2 separate regions of the Homo sapiens genome follow, and region 2 is linked to region 1. Evidence: promoter capture Hi-C in 16 types of primary human blood cells and fetal thymus (Javierre and others, 2016). All regions are on one chromosome and are shown on one strand. The core of a region is centred on a gene start or on the middle of the fragment in contact, and the rest is flanking DNA. Distances in the headings are between cores, read along the strand shown.

Evidence for each region. The method cuts DNA at HindIII sites, captures the fragments that hold promoters and counts their contacts. A CHiCAGO score of 5 or more calls a contact.
Region 2: a fragment that was not itself captured here is called in contact with the fragment with the promoter of ADSL in region 1 in 1 of 17 cell types (activated CD4 T cells); the score reaches 5.4 in activated CD4 T cells.

Annotation. Positions count from the first base shown.
Region 1 is chr22:40,342,779-40,348,812 of GRCh38, forward strand. It overlaps ADSL (adenylosuccinate lyase), which reads left to right and starts at 3,722. Exons shown (of 13, transcript NM_000026.4): 1 at 3,722-3,933. The coding sequence starts at 3,781. RefSeq lists silencers at 1,422-1,594, 3,975-4,064 and enhancers at 3,237-3,750, 3,751-4,264, 4,265-4,777. The HindIII fragment of the contact is 11,540 bases long and covers 1-6,034 here.
Region 2 is chr22:40,071,147-40,077,353 of GRCh38, forward strand. It overlaps a transcript of TNRC6B not described here. Among named protein-coding and RNA genes, the nearest start is that of TNRC6B-DT, 30 kb to the left of the region's middle. The HindIII fragment of the contact is 288 bases long and covers 2,303-2,590 here.

The DNA.
Region 1 (6,034 bases), core at 2,472-4,971:
GAAGTGGGAGGATTGCTTGTGGACAGAAGTTCAAGGCAGCAGTGAGCTATGATCATGCCACTGTCTTCTAGCCTGGGTGACAGACCCCATTTCTAAAAAACTAAACAGCCTGAGACAAGGTCTTGAAAAATAAAAAATCAGAGGAGAAGGGAAACAGAACTGGGGTGATGAAAGATATAAGACAAAATGATCAAGCAAGATCTTTTCCTGAATGAGGAAGAAGACTCAGGTAGAAACTTGTTTGGAGGAGGAAAAGTAACAGCAAAGTGAAGCAGAGGAAGAACAGAGGCCTAGAAGACTGAGGAGATCACTGAGTTTACAATGGGCATGGGTACGTGCTCTGGTTTCTCTTCAGATTATATAAATCTTTCCACCTTTTACAAGAGGCATGGGTAGAAAATGAGAAAAGTAAATTTATCACAGTGTATCAAAGCAATGAGTGCCAGGAAGCACTCTGCAAAGAGTGGGGAGTTTGATGGAGCAAATTCTTCATCTTTCCAGAACTGTGACTGCCCTCACCCCCAAAACCAGTCCTCTGCAGTTCAAGAGGGGAGGTGGAAGAAGACTTCAGTGACGAGCCCAGGTGACTGACAGGCTTCTCTGATGGCCTGAATATTCTGAAATTGGCACTCTAGTCAATTCTGACAGCTAACTCTGGAGTTCAGGTGGAGGCATGAACAAGCCAGGGAATGAGGACACCGAGGAAGTGTGGAGGAAGAGGAAGTATAGTGGCAGAATCTAACTTGTATCATGGCTATTGTGGGCGTTATTTCTCTTACTGGGCTAGGCTCCTTTGGGGCAGCATTTATGCATCCAGCAAACATTTACTGAGCACCTATGCTATGCCAGGTTTGGGGCTCAGTGCCAGGAACACAGACATGATCTCTTGCCCCACTGAGTTTGCCATCAATGAGCAAGGCAAGCAACACTGAATTCTGGTAAGAGTTTTGAAAGAGATGCCAGGAGGTCTCAGCATCCAGCCGGGCGTGGTGGCTCACGCCTGAAATCCCAGCACTTTGGGAGGCCAAGGTGGGTGGATCACCTGAGGTCAGGAGTTCAAGACCAGCCTGACCAACATGGAGAAACCCCGTCTCTAAAAAAAAAAAAAAAAAAAAAACAACGAAAAAACAAAATTAGCCAGGTGTGGTGGCGCATGCCTGTAATCCCAGCTACTCAGGAGGCTGAGGAGGGAGAATCGCTTGAACCCGGGAGGTGGAGGTTGCGGTGAACAGAGATCACACCATTGCACTCCAGCCTGGTCAACAAGAGTGAAACTCTGTCTTAAAAAAAAATAAATAAATAAATAAAAGAAAAAGAGGCCGGGCACGGTGGCTCATGCCTGTAATCCCAGCACTTAGGGAGGCCGAGAAGGGCAGATCAGAAGGTCGAGACCATCCTGGCCAACACGGTGAAACCCCATCTCTACTAAAAAAAATACAGAAAATTAGCCGGGTGTGGTGGTGGGCGCCTGCAGTCCCAGCTACTAGGGAGGCTGAGGCAGGAGAATGGCGTGAACCCGGGACGGGGAGCTTGCAGTGAGCCGAGATCATGTCACTGAACTCCAGGCTGGGCGACAGAGCGAGACTCTGTCTCAAAAAAAAAAAAAAAAAAAAAAAAAAAAGAAGCCGGGAGGTCACTCAGCATCTAAGAAAGCCCAGAGGTGTGGAGGGAGAACACTGTCATGGGTGCTCCATAGGTTTTTGAGTGAATCTGTGAATGAAAGCAGGAATGGGAAGGTGACTGGAAAAGAAGTTATTGTCAAAGAAAAGATCTTGAAGCCTTGAGATCTAATCATGTACTTTTTTTTTTTTTTTCTTGAGTTGGAGTCACACTTTGTTGCCCAGGCTGGAGTGCAGTGGCACGATCTCGGCTCACTGCAACCTCCACCTCCTGGGTTCAAGTGATTCTCCTGCCTCAGCCTCCTAAGTAGCTGAGATTACAGACACCTGCCACCACGACCTGGCTAATTTTTGTATTTTGAGTAGAGATGGGGTTTCACCATGTTGGCCAGGCTGGTCTCCAACTCCTGACCTCAGGTGATCCACCTGCCTCAGCGTCCCAAAATGCTGGGATTACAGGTGTGAGCCACCGTGCCTGGCCCTTAATCATGTACTTGTAATAGTCTAGAAATATTATGGTTATTGGAAAAGTGAAGTTAACTCTCAGCAAATAAACTGGGAGTTAAAATTGGAATTCCTCCACAGGTCTCATTTTAGTAAGGCACTCAGAAACAAGTAATTTCAAAGCAGCATAGTACTGGGCTCAAGCGATCTTCCCGCCTCGGCCTCTCAAAGTGTTGGGATTACAGGCGTGAGCCACCACACCTGGCTTGAGTGTCTTTAGATTCCTCACGTAAAAGGCAGAGAGCTAGGAGTTAAGTGCAGGTGGAGAGGGTGCAGGCACCCGGCTCTTTTCGTTTGTTTTGTTTTTGAGACAGGGTCTCACTGTTGCCTAAGCTGTAGTGGCAAAATCATGGCTTACTGCAGCCTCAACATCCTGGGCTCAAGTGATTCTCCCACCTCAGCCTCCCAAGTAGCTGGGACTACAGGTGCACACCACCATACCCAGTTAATTTTTGTATTTTTTGTAGAGACAGTGTTTCATCATGTTGCTCAGGCTGGTCTCCAACTCCTGGACTCAAGCGATCTGCCCAGCTCAGCCTCCAAAGTGCTGAGATTATAGGCGTGAGTCACCGTGCCCAGCTGAGACACCTGGCTCTTACAGCTCCAGATGAACCCTTTCCTGTGTGATCACCCCACTGGCACTCCAGACTGAACAACATAGCAAGACCCTGTCAAAAAAAAAAAAAAGGGGGGGGGCCACTTGAGTGTTTCTATTTCTATTTATTTATTTAATTCTTTTATTTTTTGGAGACGGAGTCTCGCTCTGTCGCCCAGGCTGGAGTGCAGTGGCGCGATCTTGGCTCACTGCAACCTCCGCCTTCCGGGTTCAAGAAATTCTCCTGTCTCAGCCTCACAAGTAGCTGAGACTACAGGTACAGGCCGCCATGCCCGACTAATTTTTTGTATTTTAGTAGAGACAGGGTTTCACGTGTTGCCCAGGCTGGTCTCAAACTCCTAAGCTCAGGAAATCTGCCTGCCTCGACCTCCCGAAGTGCTGGGATTACAGGCGTAGGCCACCGCAGCCGGCTCACTGGGGGCGCAGTAAATGCCGATTTCCCTTGGGTATCTTCATTTCTCCTTAGAGCCGAGCTCGGTGCGCCGCGGGCAGGAGTGGGTGGGGCGACAGTAATAAGAGTAACAGCAAGCGTACACACGGCCTTCCAAGTGTGCCAGACACCGCTCTAACACTGAATCCGCACAACCCGAAAGGCAGGCCTTTTTTTTTTTTTTTTTTTTTGCTTTTTGTTTTTTAGAGACGGGAGGGTCTCCCTGTGTTGCCCAGGCTGGTCTCGATCTGTCGGCCTCAAGCGATCCTCCGGTCTGGGGCCCCCACAGTGCTGGGATTACAAGCGTGAGCCACCGCGCCCGGCCAAGGAAGTCTTAATGTACCTCTTTTCAGACAGGAAAACTAAAGTGTAGCGCGGCTAAGTAACGTAGGAAGCATCAATCATGTTTCTGGTCAAAGAAGCGAACCAAGTCAATTCTCAGGCAGAAGCAGCGGAGATTCTCCGCAGCCGGCAGCGCCCAGGGCGCCCGGAACCCAGAGAGCGAGACCGCGTGAAGGAAGTCCCGCCCCGCCCCGTCCTGCCCTGGCCTCCAGGTTTCCGCTTCCGCTCTTCCCTGGTCCAGTCCACCCTGGCGGGGTCGCAGGGTTGGGATGGCGGCTGGAGGCGATCATGGTTCGCCCGACAGCTACCGCTCACCTCTTGCCTCCCGCTATGCCAGCCCGGAGATGTGCTTCGTGTTTAGCGACAGGTATAAATTCCGGACATGGCGGCAGCTGTGGCTGTGGCTGGCGGAGGCCGAGCAGGTAACGGATCCCGGGCTGAGGGGCTGGGCCGGGAGGGACGGGCCCGCCCCAGCACGTGCCGGGCTCTGTTCCGGGCTGGGCTTAGCCACCCCGGAGCTGCGGCCCGGCTATTTTCAGCTGGGTGTTCCCTGTCCTGAGGAGCTGCGGCCCCAGGAAAGCAAGGGCAGGAGATCCGGGAGCCGCCACCTGTTGCCTCACGTGTTCTCAGTCCGAGAGGGTTCGAGACGCGGAGGAGGCTGGGAGAAATTCAGCCTGTAGTTTCAGGGAATTCATTTTGGCCATCCCCGCAGGAGTACGCTGCTAACCACAGACACCGAGCGCTTGTTTCGTACTGTTGTGCTCATTATTTCACTAATCTTTTCTTGTGTAATCCATGAAGATCTTGCAGGCTTGATGGTGTTTTTCCCACATTGCAGGGGAGAACAAAGCCCGGACAGCTTGTTGTTTGCCCTAGCCCATCCAGCTATTAAGAACGGAACTGGGATTTGAACCTGGGTGCACTCCAGAGCCTGAGCTGAGCACGTAGCCCCTTGGTTTTCCACAGTGCCTGTGTAGTTAGTGACAGGACTGGAATGCTTGTTTTCTAGGCCACCGTTTCTGCCTCACTGGCCTCCGCTTTGCCTCTTAGGAGAAGACTCCGGGTAGGGGTTTATTAAACGGGGTTTATAATTTCTTTTCTAAGGGCTGCATAGAGAACTTCTTAGCCCAGCGGTTTCAGAAATAGCTCCAGAAGAGTTGAAGCAAACTGAAGGTGATCCAGAGAGCGATAATGTTTCTCCTCAAGTTTCAGAGGAAAGTGCCACAACGAGCAAGTTGGCAATGCCCTCTCAAACGGCACAGTAAACATGGAAACAATTTGACTTCGGGCCTAGGACCTGTACCATGGAACTCTCCAAACAGGAAACTTTCATTCTAGATTCCCTCCCTCCCCTTATCACTGCCCTCCAAAATATTGGGCGATACACTACAATAATAGCAGACATTCAGATAGTGCCTTCTGAGACCCAGGTCTTAACCCTTTACACATGGTTGCTTATTAATCCTCCAAACAACCCTGAAGAGTAGGTATGAAATACTATGACTGTACCTGTTTTACAGATGGAAGAATGAAGCATCAACTTAATAAACTCTTGGCGTAGATAGCGATAGTAGTAGACCTTAATCATGTGTTGTGGTTTGTGATGTACTAGTGTGTACTCTTTCTATTTCATCTGATATTCTATTCTGTAGATGAGGGTAGTGGTACTCAAGACTTTGCCAGGGTCGCCAAAGCTAGTAAATGGCTTCAAGCTGGAATTGGAATGTAGAGTCTGAGTATGTGTTCTTTGTGTTGGCCTAAAATGCATACAATTTTGGCTTTGGATTATCTGTTAGGGTGTCAAAATTACCATAAATTGCATAATAACTTAGTAGCTAAGAAAAAACTTGGAGAATAAGAGATTAGGAGGAATGCAGAAAATTTGTAGTAAGGAAAGTATGAATTTTGAAAAGATAAATTGCTTGAGGGGAGGAAGCAGTATGGCCGTGCTGCCCTCTGCTGCTTTGCTTTGGAAGGAGCCCAGAGGTGTCATGTCTTCTGTGACTGTAAAGGTTCCAGGCAGTTCTGCCACATGTGGCTGCCGAGTACTTGAAATGCAGCTAGTGTGACTGAGAAACTGACTTTTTACTTTTATTTATATATTTAGGTTTTGAGACTGGGTCTGGCTCTGTCGCCTAGGCTGGAGTGCAGTGGCACAATCTTGGCTCGTTACAACCTCTGCATCCTGGGCTCAAGCTGTCCTCTCACCTCAGCCTCCCAAGCTGGAACTAGAGGTGCACGCCACCACGCCCGGCAAATTTTTGTGTTGTTTTGTAGAGATGGGTCTCACTGTGTTTTCCAGTGCGGTCTAGAACTTCTGGACTCAAGCGATCCACCGACCTTGGCCTCCCAAAGATGTGAGCCACCATACCTGGCCTGACTTTTTACTTATAAATATTTTCCAATACTTTTTAATTAATCAATTTAAATTTAAATAGCCATATCTGGCTAGTAGCTCCTTTCTTGGATAAAAAAGATCTAAGATGCAAGATCCTTCCCGGAGTCACTGTTTGCAAGTTTCAA
Region 2 (6,207 bases), core at 1,197-3,696, 270 kb before region 1:
AAGATTAAATCTGTTCTTTCTCTATAGGCCAGTTAATAGAAATTAGGACACCTCTTCACAAAGCTCAATACCTTAGGCAGTTGCCACTGTCCCCTGATACCTCCACTAGATACTTCCTACTCCTTGCTGGCTTTATATGAAGGATCTCATAGTTCCCCTCTTCTCCTCTCTCCTTTCGGAGGTACCTCGTGTTAATAAATGCTAAGTAAAAGAGATTTAAAATGTACAGTACCTCATGTAATATCTATCCTATCTCAAATAGAAATGTTTCAGAAGGTGCAACATGCTTTCTCTGGACCGACTTTTCCTATTACCAGCGAATGTGGAAGCTTAAAAAGTAACGTATACTTGTGTGTCATTTGGACTTTGGTATTACCATAAGGGAATATATACTTATGATAACATGAAACTCCAAATGGTACAGAAGTATAAAGGAAAAGCAGAAGTTTTCTCTTGCCCTACTGCGCCCCTCACTCCTCCAGCTTCTGACCACAAGGTTTGGACCCTTTTAAAATAATTTTTTTCTTTAGCTCAGACATTCCAGGGGACAGTTTGGGGAATTCTGATTAGGCATTATAACCCCACTTGGATTGATTTTGTGTTCATTGTATGTTAAATTATGGAGATGGCCTTTTCTGTGTTAACTGGCAGTTATAGCTTTTATTTCTAGAGCGATTTGTTCAGATTGCATGGTTTTGAACTGTTAATTAAATACTTTTTGTTTGTTTCGAGACCGGATCTTGCTCCATCGCCCATGCTGGAGTACATTGGCGCGATCATAGCTCACTATAACCTCAAACACCTAGGCTCAGTCTTCCCACCTCAGCCTTTTGGAAAGCTGAGACTGCAGGCATACATCACTACGCCTGACTGATTTTTAAAAATCTTTTTGTAGAGACAGGGTCTCACTGTGTTTCCCAGACTGGTCTTGAATGCCTGGACTCAAGCGATCATCCAACCTCTGCCTCTCAAAGCACTGGGATTACAAGATACATTTTTTAAGAATATTAATTGTGACAGATTGAAAGTGTCTGAGTATTATTCAGACACAGAGATTGAAATATAAATTATTGATCTATTTAATGAAAAATAATTTTTAGGAGTCAAAAACAGCATATAATATATTTGACAGTGAGGTTTCCCTAACGGAGCGCTTACTTAAGAAACGGGGTGTTGGCTCATTCACCAAGTCAGTTGTTCTCAAGGTAAGCATGTGGGCAGTGGGATGCAGATGTCATCCTACTAATTATTCCCAAGGATGTTGTTGACATTATTTATGTTCTTAAATCCATAATAAAGAAGATCACGATGCATTTAAACATGAATGTCCTTTTTGGGAAAGTGTAAACTTTTGTCTTAATATGGAATCCACATTCTTTTATTGTTCAGTTCAACAAACTTTTATTGAGCACTAACTTAGTCAAGAACTGTCTTTGGCCTGGCAAGGTGGCTGAGGCCTGTAATCCCAGCACTTTGGGAAGCCCAGGAGGGCAGATCACCTGAGGTCAGGAGTTTGAGACCAGCCTGGCCAACATGGGGAAACCCCAGCTCCACTAAAAATACAAAAATTAGCCGGGCATGGTGGCACGTGCCTGAAATCCCAGATACTCAGGAGGCGGAGGCAGGGGAATCACTTGAACCTGGGAGGCGGAGGTTGCAGTGAGCCAAGATTGTGCCATTGCATTCCAGCCTGGGCAACAGAGCGAGATTCTCTCAAAAAAAAAAAAAAAAAAAAAAAAAAAGCTGGCTTCACAGTGGAGGTATAGAGCATTGGGACATAAGCTAGAACAAAAGATCAGAAATCACTTTTGCTTGTCATAATGAGGCTATAAGATATTTCCTTTCAAATGAGGGCACACGTAATAAGTATTGCCTGACATGTATTCTACATAAGGACATTCAGTCTCAAGTTGTTTGGTCAAGTCCCTAACAGGCAGTCACTCCCAGACTCCTATCCCCTACTGCCCCACACCCTACACATACATAGGGCCTTGGTTTTTTTTTTTTTTTTTTTTTTTCCAATCCTTATATTTAGAGCCATATATGTGGGACAGCAGAAATGGTCATTGGGATTCCAGGGTGCCTGTTTCCTAGCTGAGAGTCTCAGAGTCCTTGTTTTTGCAGAGTGTAATATAGAACACGTTTTTTGTTAAGTGAAGGTCAAGAACTCTTTGTCTTCCTTTAGGGACAGCAAGTCCTGTGGAGCCTTTTAGGATTCAGTACTCTGCATTAAACAGGAGCTTTTCTAATATGGCTGGAAACTGTTGGGGGTGGATTAGAGATTTTTAAGGATCTTATGGCAAGCTTTGGCTGGTAGAGTACAAGAATCTAGTGGTGTCTTTTATTGGGGTTTTGGGGGTGCTGGGAACTATGACATTACAAAGAGCCACTAATTGTTAACTGAAGGAAAAAATACTGGTCAATGAAGGGAAACTTAACTATAAAATCAACTTAGTAGAAATAAACCATTAAGTGGTACTAATATGGGCAGGCACAGTGGCTCACAGCTGTAATTCCAGCACGTTGGGAGGCTGAGGCAGGTGGATCTCTTAAGGCAAGGAGTTCGAGACCAGTCTGGGTAACATGGTGAAGCTTCATCTCTACTAAAAATACAAAAATTAGCAGCCAGGGCTGGGTGCGGTGGCTCATGCCTGTAATCCCAGCACTTTGGGAGGCCGAGGTGGGCAGATCACCTGATGTCAGGAGTTCGAGACCAACCTGGCCAACATAGCGAAACCCCAGCTCTACTAAAAACAAAAAACAATACAAAAAATTAGTCGGGCATGGTGGCGTGTGCCTGTAGTCCCAGCTACTCTGGATGCTGAGGCAGGAGAATCGCTTGAACCTGGGAGGTGGAGGTTGTAGTGAGTGGAGATTGTGCCACTGCACTCCAGCCTAGGCAATGAGAGTGAAACTCCATCTCAAAAAAAAAAAAAAAAGCCAGATGTGATGGCCTGTGCCTGTAGTCCCAGCTACTCAGGAGGCTGAGGCACGAGAATTGCTTGAACCTGTGTGACAGAGACTGCAGTGAGCTGAGATCACACCACTGCTCTCCAGCCTCGGTGACAGAGTGAAGGTCGCTCTGTCTCAAAAAAAAAAAAAAAAAGAAAAGAAAATGGTAACTAGTTCAAGCTAATAATTTAAGAGTAAATAAAAGGTATACATATGGAAAAACTATCTTTAGAGTGTATGAAATTAGTACATTTCAAGATGGTGGGCCAGGCATGGTGGCTCATGACTGTAATCTCAGCACTTTCGGGAGGCTGAGGTAGGAGGATTGCTTGAGTCCAGGATTCAAGACCAGCCTGGGAAACATATGAGACTTTATCTCTATAAAAAATAAAGAAAATGGCTGGGCGCGGTGGCTCACGCCTGTAATCCCTGCACTTTGGGAGGCCAAGGCAGGTGGATCATGAGGTCAGGAGATCGAGACCATCCTAGCTAACACGGTAAAACCCCGTCTCTACTAAAAATACAAAAAAATTAGCCAGGCGTGGTGGTGGGCGCCTATAGTCCCAGCTACCTGGGAGGCTGAGGCAGGAGAATGGTGTGAACCCTGGAGGTGGAGCTTGCAGTGAGCCGAGATCACGCCACTGCACTCCAGCCTGGGTGACAGAGCAAGACTCCGTCTCCAAAAAAAAAATAAAATAAAATAAAGAAAATTAGCTGGGCATGGTGGTGTGTGCCTGTATTTCCAGCTACTCGGGAGGCTTAGGTGGGAGGATTGCTTGAGCCTGGAAGGTGGAGGCTGCAGGGAGCCGTGGTTGTACCACTGCACTCCAGCGTAGGCAACAGAGCGAGACCTTGTCTCAAAGAAAAATACTGTTACCATAAAACACATGCAATTTCAGTCCTTTGAGATCTGTCATGATTTGTATGGTCTTCTTTGTGAATAGTTCTATGTGTACCTGAAAAAAATGTATGTTCTGCTATTCTTGGGTGTAGTGTGCTATTAATGTCAATTTAGCCAAGTTGATTGTTGGTTCTGTTCATATATATATATATATATATTTTTTTTTTTTTTTTTTTTTTTCTTACTGATTTTCTTTCTACATTGATATAATGTAGTTTCTGAGAAGTGTTGAAATATCCAACTATAATTGTGGATTTGTCTATTTCCCCTTTCAGTTCTGTTCATTTTTGCTTCATGCATCTTGAGCCTCTGTAACTATGTGTATATACACATTTAGGATTTTTATGTCTTCTCAATGAATTTAGCCCTTTGTAATTATAGAACGTTTCCTTATCCCTGGTAATATTTCTTATCCTGAAGGCTATATTGTGTGATATTAATATGGTCACTCCAGCTTATTTATGTATTTGTATATCTTTTTGTTTCCTTTTACTTTTAACTTATTCGTGTCTTTATTTTTTTAATGAATTTATTTTAGATAGTAGATAGTTGGATTTTTAAAGTCCAATCTTACCATCTTTGTTTTTTAATTGAAGTGTTTAGACCACTTACATTTATGTCATTTTCAATATGGTTGGGTTTAAGTTTATCATTTTGCTGTTTGTTTTCTATTTATCCCATCTGTTTTCTGTTTATTCTTTCCTCTTTTCCTGGCTTCTTTTTGATTACTTTTTTACTATTCCATCTCCTCTGTTAGCTATAAACCTTTGTTTTACTTTTATAACAGTTGCTTTATGGCTTAAAATATGCATCTTTAACTTATGCAGTCTGCCTTAAAATAATATGCCACTTCATTTATAGTGTAAAAACTTCAAAAAGTGCACTTTCATTTTCCCATTATATCTTTGGACTATTGTCATACATTTTACTTCGACATGTTAAATGTCCCACAATTCATTGTTACCAATTTTGCTTTTAATGACAAAAAGCCTGAAAAAGAAAAGTATTTTCCATTTACCCACATATTTGCCATTTCCAATGCCCTTTATTCTTTTGTTTAGATCTGAGTTCCCATCCGTATTATTTTATTTAGCCTGAAAAGCTTCACCGTTTTTTGTACTAAAGATTTCTTCTAGGCTGTGCACGGTGGCTCACGCCTGTAATCCCAGCACTTTGGGAGGCCAAGGCAGGAGGATAGCTTGAGCCCAGAAGTTCAAGACCAGCTTGGGCAACATGGCAAAAACCCATCTCAACAAAAAATACAAAAATTAGGCAGACATGGCAGCATACATCTGTAGTTCCAGCTACTCAGGAGGCTGAGATAGATCACTTGAGCCTGGGGAGGTTGAGGCTGCAGTGAGCCATGGTCATTCAGTGGGCCACAGATTTCTTCTAGTAGAGACCTGGTGGCAATTAGTTGTCTCAGCTTTTGTTCTTGAAAAATCTCTTTATTTTTCCATCTTTTTTGAAGGCTATTTTTGCTGGATATCAAATTTTAGATAGACAGTTTCTATCTTTTGGCACCTTAAAGATGCTTTTCTGTTGTATTGTTAAAGATCCCTATCTTGTATTGTTTCTTTCTTTTGTAGAGACAGCCTCTCTCCCTTTGCCCAGGCTAGTCTTGAACTCTTGGCCTCAAGCAGTCTTCCCACCTAAGCCTCTCAAAGTGGTGTGAGCCACCACAACCAGCCACTCAAAAGCAATTTTTATTAAGAGACTGAAAAAATGCTTTAATGAAAAGTCTTCCAGTAATACTGTAGTATGGATGCTTCATAAAAAAACTTTCCACTACTGTTTCTAAGCTTTACCTTTAGCTTGACAATGTGTATCTTTAAAGCCTTAAAAAATATCCACATACCCTGTGACCCAGCAATTCTTAGCTGGGTGCGGGGGTGTGCACCTCTAGTCCCAGCTACTCTGAGGAGTGAGTTTGGAGGATTGCTTCAGCCCAGGAATTTGAGACTAGTCTGAGCAAAGTACCAAGACCCTATCTCTAAGAAAAGAAAAGAGAAAAGAAAAGAAGAGAAAAAAAGAAAAAAGAAAAGGAAAGGAAAAGGAAAAGAAAAGAAAAGAGAGAAGAGGAGAGGAGAAAGAGGGAGGGAGAGGAGAGGGGAGGGGAGGGGAGGCGGGGCACTTCTTCCTATACAGTATCGTGCCTTGGAAACCCAGCTTCCTCAACCCCTACAAACCCTGAACTCAGGCTCCTCTGATTATTTCGCTCACGGTAGTCTGCATAGGTTATCTCTCCCATGCCATGGTCTGCAAAGTGCCCACGAGCAGAAAGCCAGAGCCTTCAAGGACTCACCTCTTTGGTTCCTTTCTCTCAGAAATCACAGTGCTAACTGTTCTTCACT